Regions from separate parts of the Homo sapiens genome. Here region 2 is linked to region 1. The links are contacts of gene promoters, found by promoter capture Hi-C in human tissues and cell types (Jung and others, 2019). All regions are on one chromosome and are shown on one strand. The core of a region is centred on a gene start or on the middle of the fragment in contact, and the rest is flanking DNA. Distances in the headings are between cores, read along the strand shown. Region 1 holds the start of DDIT4L (DNA damage inducible transcript 4 like). Region 2 has its middle 46 kb from the start of DDIT4L.

Region 1 (3,326 bases), core at 54-2,553:
GCTTAAGCAGTTTATCTATGCTCTTACAGCTCTTTAGTGTCAGAGCAGTGTGTTCACCTAGAAACTGCTGTTAAAATTCCAAATGACAGCAAGTCAAGCACCGCTGCTGTTCAACAGTTTCCTTCTCACATTAAAAATGGAATAATGGATATATCCACGACTGAAAATCCTACTCAGTAATAAACAATAAACACGAACACACTGATTTAAGCAACGGACATAAAAGAATCTCAAAAACATTAGGCTGCGGGAAAGAAACCAGACACAAAAGAATACCTACTGTATGGTTCCACTTACCTAAAGGCAAAACTAACTTGGAATGATAAAAATCAGATCAGTAGTTCCCTGGAGTCAGGGGAGAGTGAGGAATACCTGGCAAATAGGTGCGTCGGAATTCAGGGGGAGGGGCGATATTGATTACAGGGTAAATACATTTGCTAAAACACACATAACTGTGTTCTTCACAATCATGTAAGATAAGGAACTTAATCCCAAGGGGCCTACTGGCACCAGACTAGAAAGATGCAGCCCTCGGGTATTCTACTTTTGCTACTTTTGTTTCTATCATGGAGAGAAGATGTTAGAAAATTTGGAAAGGAGTCTCCTCAGATGGATTTTGTGGCACCTCCTACATAGAGGTAGGGGAGGAAGTCGAAAGCCCGCCCACCCAATAGATCCAGAGGCACCGACCTTGGGAGGGGAGAAGGGTGGACAGCGGGGACACTCACCACTTAGCAGGCTCTCTGGGTGATAGCCACAGTCCAGCAATTCTGAAATGCTGGCCGGGTTCTTGCTGCTCAAACTGCCAGTTGCAACCATGGTCAACGGCTCTGTTTCCTTCGCGAGGCGCAACGGCCTTTCCTGAGCGCTGGAAAAAATGAGGCGAGAAGAGACGGATTTGCAAAAGCAGGCGAGTCGTGCAGAGGCTCCTAAAATGCCCGGCGTCCCGGGAGCGAACTAGCGGAGGAACTCCTTTGCCAAAGGGGTGGAACCGGCCTCTGCAACTCAATTTGACAAAGCCCTGGGAGCGGAGCCGCAACCTGAAACTAACTCAACAGTTCGCAAAACTTGGAAGCGACCTGCCCCGCGGAGCGCCCCCCGGCCCCGCTGCCCCCACCAAGGCCGCAGCTTCGCTCACCTGCCAGGAGTTCGCGGGGGCCTGCGCGCTCGCTGCCGGGTAAACACAGGCAGGTGGCTTCTTAGGAGTCCCCTCTCCTGGGGACTCGGTGACCTGCAGACCCCAGCAGCCAGCGGCACCCTGCTCACCCCTCCCGGGCCACCCTGCGCCGGCTCCTCGCAGTAGCATAGCCTCCGGGGCAGCGAGAACTTTATAGGTCCAGTCCCCACCCTGCTCAGGCCCGCCCACCTGCACCGCCCCTCCCCGGCCAGCGCCCCGCCCCTCCCCTCCAGAGTCTGGTCCCCTTTCAACCTCTACACTTCCAGGGAGCCCGAGCCTAGCCACAGGGAGTTGAGGATAAGCCTGTGGTAGAGCGGACACCTGTTGCTTCCAGGGTAGATCTCGGGCCACTGGGACCGCAATTCCGGGTGCACGACTCGTCAAAGCCTGAACCTGATTGTTCAGTGCGACCCCTCCCCGAGCGTCCGCGCTTTCACACTCAGGCTGCTCCCGGCAGCGGGAAGCTTTAAGCGATCTGTGCATTTCCTTGTCCTGGGGCTTTGCTGTGTCATCCTGAACACTTGGCTTAAATCTGTTGCAACGTCCACTGAGCATCATTTATGCACTTATTTCTGGCCTCTAACCCAGTCAACTCTACTCTGCCTCCCAGGGTTTCTGTATCCTCCTCTGCTGCAAGCGGTCAGATCTAGTTTTCCTTTCCCGCATCGAAGGCTCGCCAGCATTTTAAGAAGGGCCTTAATGACCCCACGCACTCCGTGGCTCCCTGGCATTCTTCGTGCACTTACATCTGTGGCTAATGCGTTTTCTTCGCAGGAAGGGTGAGCCTGGCACTCTTCTAATTAGACCTTGCCCCAGAGCGCGGGGAGCTTGAATTGAGCGGGAGTTTGCCAAGAAACACACAATACCATTAGTAGGATCTTAGGTACTCCTCTATCCGTGCATCGAGAGCAACTGTCATTTCCGGAGGCAGAAGTTTCTGGCGAGCCCTGTTGGGAGGATCTTTGGTTTGGGATATTTTGAAGAGGTTTCAGAGACTGAAGATAAAGAGTTTTATATTCTGCTGGGGATCAGCAGATAATCCCTGTGAGGGCTCCGTGCGGTCCTGCACAGGAACACACAGAGAGGCAGAGGAGCCCTGGAAAGAGGCAACATGCCCGCATAGCCCATGAGCAAGAAGCCAAACCTGATTTTTTTCTTCCAAAGTTATTAAGCCACGGTTTTCTCGCTTTGGTGTGCCAGTAGGAGATGATCTGTTCAGAGAGTCAGCTTGGGGTGCGTTAGGGGATGCCTGGAGGGAGAAGGTTGTTCCTACAGTAGAGATCCCAGTGTTGGCTCCCAGGCCCTCTAGGATTATGTGTAGAAGGATTTGCAGGTTAGAACCTTGAAAGGCAGTTTCAGCTGTCCTGGCATAAAACTCTTAGAAAAACAACAACAGAAGGGGTATAGAGGGTGTGATAAACAGATCAGTGGGAGGACATTCGGACGCAGAGCAGCAGAAATTAAAGCCAGCTTGACAGTCCATTTTTAACTCAGTTCAGGCAGCTGCACTGCCTGAAGGTCAGGCGAGCCAAGGAAGGAGATGCTGATAGACTGGTCTTTGAAGGCCAGTTTCCACTTCTACTTCAATAAACAGAAAAGTGGAAAATAAACAAGCCCATTTAAGCCAATTAAAAAGCGGTTTCAGTGGCTAGGGTGTTCAGGACCAATGGATGGGCCCATGGTCAGGAGTTGGATGCCAGCCGCCTGACAGTCAGTCCCTGGGCAGGCCACAGAGCCTCTTGTCCTTGTCTGGGCAGCATTACTAATGAGGCTGCCACTTAACCTGCCTCCAAGGAGGATTTTTAGAATTAATATAATGAGTGGTCTGAACCAATACTAGCGAAATAAAGAAATTACTCGTTTCAATTTCCTTAGGGTATTTAGGCATAATTCATAGAGTAAATGCCCCCATAGGGCCAGAAAGATTATTGGAACTTACAGAAAGTAGTAGTTGCTCTTGGCCCACCTGACTAAATGAAATTTTGCAAAGCCCTTTGGGATTTGACTTCAGAAAACAATTTACTTATGTACAAAAGACTTCAAATAATATCTTCTTGGCTGAATGGGCCTTGCTCTCAGGACATACAGGGCATAAGGAATGATTGAGGTAAAACACATACCTGGAATAATTAAGAATGTCCTTTTTTAT
Region 2 (3,882 bases), core at 581-3,080, 46 kb after region 1:
ACCAATATCAATGTCTTATGTATTAAAAGTTACACAAGAAAAGATCATTCTATTTTGGGCTGGGTTTATAGTTTTGTAACCCCCATGCCAAATTTTGATACCTTACAGTATTTGGCAGGGATAAGTATGAAATTCCTTGATTAATAAATGCAAACAAAAATGTATGCTGGCAATTCTTAAGACATTTCTAATATTACTTTACCAATAATTTTAAAGCTAGCTTATTATTAAAGATTTTACTTAAGTTATATAAAATTGAAAAAACATTTGACTAGTCTTTTCTTTATTCCTGATAAAGTATTTGATTCAAGTGCTTTTATTTTTCTTGAACCAATTAATTAGAGCTCTTTTATGTATTTTCAGTAGTGAAACATTGTGTACACAACACATAAATGCATAGACATATCAGGCATGTGGATAGAAGTACATCTTACAGATTCATAAAGATCCTTTTTTGTTTTTTCCTATTTTAGACTTCCCAATTCTTGATAACCTGTTCCACAACCCTAGGCAGTTGTCAGCTAAATAGCCTTAAATTTGCATATTAAAGGAAACAACTCAGGTGAAAATCAAATAGAAAAATTTGCATCATAAGGTACAGAGAGAAAAAGTCTGGTGGTCTGTTCGAATTCATAAAAATAGGGTAGTCAGAAGGAGATGATTTTATTTTTCTTTTAGCCAATCAAACATAAAATTATATAAATTTATCAATGGATTGTAAAAGGAGACCAATTTTATTTAGATAGAGACTACCTATTTTTTTTTTTTTAACTGGATCTCTGAGCTCTTGGCAGAGCCCACACTGAATCCTGGGTCTTCAAAAAATGATAATTATTTTGAGGTTAGACCATGTGATGCTTTTTCAGTGCACGTAATTTTTTTTTTTAAGTAAAGGTGCTTCTGAGTGTCTAAATTACACTCTTCATTATAAAACCCAAGAGTAGCCTCTGTTGCAATAACTATTTTAGTCAAAAAGTCAGGTGAAAATAGAATTCAGTTAACTGAGAAGAAAAATATTTTTTTGCTCAAAAAAAGGCAAGGTTCTAGGAGAGAAAAATAAACAGAAAAACCCCAAAACATGAAGGCTTTTTAAATACAAATATGCACACATTTACACATCTTGACTTTTAACCATTGAGTTCCTTAAAAAAAAAAAAAACTTTTGAAATATCATCTCCATATTTCAGCTAGGACAAAATGCTGCTATTTCAGAAGTACAGCTCTTGCTCTTTCAGTTTGGTCTGGCTGGCAAAAAGGGGCCTTGTTATATAAAGAAAGTACCTTTAGTGGTCAAAACCAAAAGCTTTCCTCTTTTTTGTTTCCTTTTGCTGGCCATTTTCCTCCCCCCACCATACCACCTTTTTTTTGTGGGTATTTAGCCACTTTAGAGACCTTTCTCCCCATTATTTAAGAGTTCACCTTTGAATTTGACCAAGTTGGTACAGGTGTTGGACCCAAAATGTGCTGCTCACAGGCCTAGCTTTTCAGGGCCGTTACCCCTTGAACTGGTTTGGTCCACCCATGTTGTGGCTACCTGGCACAGTATGTCAGGGGCTAAAGCTGTGGGAGGGGTCAGCTCCTTATATGCACCTGCTGGTTGAGATTAGACCCTAAATACATTTTTCTGAGGAGGAATCCTATTTAGAGCGGCTGCATGTCTTAGGAAGCATTCCTCCCAGACACCCTCACGTGATTCTCAGTCGCCTGAAAATGCCTTGAAAGGCTGAGGGGAGCAAGGTGCTCTTAGTTCTTCCAAGTGGAAGATTCCACACTCATGTGCTAGAGGGTTTGGAGTTGGTTGAACTCTATAAGGGAAAGGACCAAAGCACATGCACAAAAAACCCCAACAAGACAGAAACAAACAAAAAAATAGTTAAGCAAAACCAACAATGATTACACAAATTATAAGATTTTTGAGTGTTCTATGTGTAAGCAGAAATTAACATCAGCTGGTTGTTAATGCTAACTTTAATCGTTTAAAAAGAATTTTCGAGACAGAATCCCAAACCGATTTTTTTACCTAGTAATGGGGCCCAAGCTCAAAATCGCTCTCTGCTGATGCAGAGGCAGGCTTGCCTTCCTTGATGGAAAAGAGTAGAAACTCCCCCCAAAAGGAGTTTTTTAACAGCAAATAAACCTCAGACCCCCAACAAAAAAAAGTTGGAAGATCAGGGATCCCTGAAGGAAAGAGTTCCTGGGCTTCAGCAATTGTCCTATCAGTTTGGGCTATAGGTGCCCAAGCCAGTACCAAACACTGATAGACGAGCGGCTGCAGACCAGGTCATCTTTACTCAGAATTCCTTCATGGTTACCAGATGTCAATTGAGAAAAATGATGAGACAAGTCTTAATCATTTTAGGAGGTTTATTTGTCAAAGTCAAGGACACATGCCCATGACACAGCCTCAGGAGGTCCTGATGACATGTGGCCAAGGTGGTTGGGGCACAGGTTGGTTTTATACATTTTAGGGAAGCATGAGACATCAATCAATATATTTAAAAAGTACATTGGTCCCGTCCAGAAAGGCAGGGGCAACTTAAAACAGGGAGGATACTTCCATGGAGGTTACAGGTAGGGGAGAGACAAACAGTTGCATTCTTTGAGTTTCTACTAAGCCTTTCCAAAGGCAGCAATCAGAATATACATCTGTCTCAGTGAGCAAAGGGATGACTTTGAATAGAATGAAAGGCAAGTTTGTCCTGAGCCACTCCCAGCTTAACTTTTCCCTTGGTTTAGTAATTTTGGGGCCCCAGGATTTTCCTTTCATACTCTTAAAGTCTGTTGTTCTCATTTCATTAGTTACATGCCCAAGTCCAATATCTATTTCATCTGCTGGGTAGACAAAGTGGAAAAAATTGTCCGTGTTCCTACTAAGAGACCCAGTCTGATTGCTCTTCATTATCTTTTCTGAGATGGAAACAATCAGTCATACCAGCGAAGGTGGAAGGAGGAAGTGTCAGTACATTTGCAGAGCATTTTAATCTTCAGCAGGCAGTAGCAACTTGGAACATTCCTTTTCAGCAACCAAATGCACTGGGTATACCCTTCATTTTCAGTACATCTGTAGTCAGGATTTCCTGATTGGTATGCCACTTTGTTTTTAGCTTAGCATATGTAAAATTAGAAGTTGTGTGAATTGATTTTGGCAACAACGGTGTAATGAGTGACGGCTTTGAAAGCACAGAATACATGGAACTTGATAAGACAAAAGCTGAGCTTCACACAGTTGATCTTGAGTCAACAATATTGCATTAACATGGCACTAAGTCACTTAATCAAAACGATGACTTAAAACGCAATGGTAATATCTTTTTCTTAGGAGTTCTTATGTTACTTCTTAATCACAGCTAAAGACAAATAATGAAAGATCATGAAACAGCTTCAATTCCAATACTGTCTGGAACCTACTGTGGGGTCTGGGAAGAGGTTACATAAAGATGACCTTGAGTAGAAGCAGAATCTCCTTAGATTCTGAAGAGAACAATGGCAACATTTTGCTCCTCTCCAGAGTGAGGCACATATGACTATCGTCTATCTTATATTCTTCTTATTATCTTTTTAATGTTTAATTTTGATTTTTATCAAGGTATTTAGTGTACACAGTTATAAAAGTCAAATAATATTATAGTTTGCCTTAATCTCTCAACATCTTGTTTTCCAGTCCCCAGGTACAATTATATTCAATTCTTTTAGCTATTGCTTCCAGTAATTACTTACACATTTCTAATGGCATATTCATACTAATGTTTTATTATATTTTATGTTTACTTATTATCTATTGATGGTAGAAGATGAAGATTTTGTCTTCCTATACCCCTCTTCACATATACAAATATTTGATTTCCTAAAAACTTGCCAAATAGCTTATGGTTAAGGCCATAT

Evidence for each region. The method cuts DNA at HindIII sites, captures the fragments that hold promoters and counts their contacts. A contact is called where the count stands out against the background at its distance.
Region 2: a fragment that was not itself captured here is called in contact with the fragment with the promoter of DDIT4L in region 1 in 1 of the 25 tissues and cell types used here (hippocampus).

The regions. Positions count from the first base shown.
Region 1 is chr4:100,189,165-100,192,490 of GRCh38, forward strand. It overlaps DDIT4L (DNA damage inducible transcript 4 like), which reads right to left and starts at 1,304. Exons shown (of 3, transcript NM_145244.4): 1 at 1,139-1,304; 2 at 729-868. The coding sequence starts at 819. DDIT4L-AS1 (DDIT4L antisense RNA 1) reads left to right here and starts at 869. Exons shown (of 5, transcript NR_125924.1): 1 at 869-910. The HindIII fragment of the contact is 5,141 bases long and covers 1-3,326 here.
Region 2 is chr4:100,234,213-100,238,094 of GRCh38, forward strand. No RefSeq gene overlaps it. Among named protein-coding and RNA genes, the nearest start is that of DDIT4L, 46 kb to the left of the region's middle. The HindIII fragment of the contact is 5,734 bases long and covers 1-3,882 here.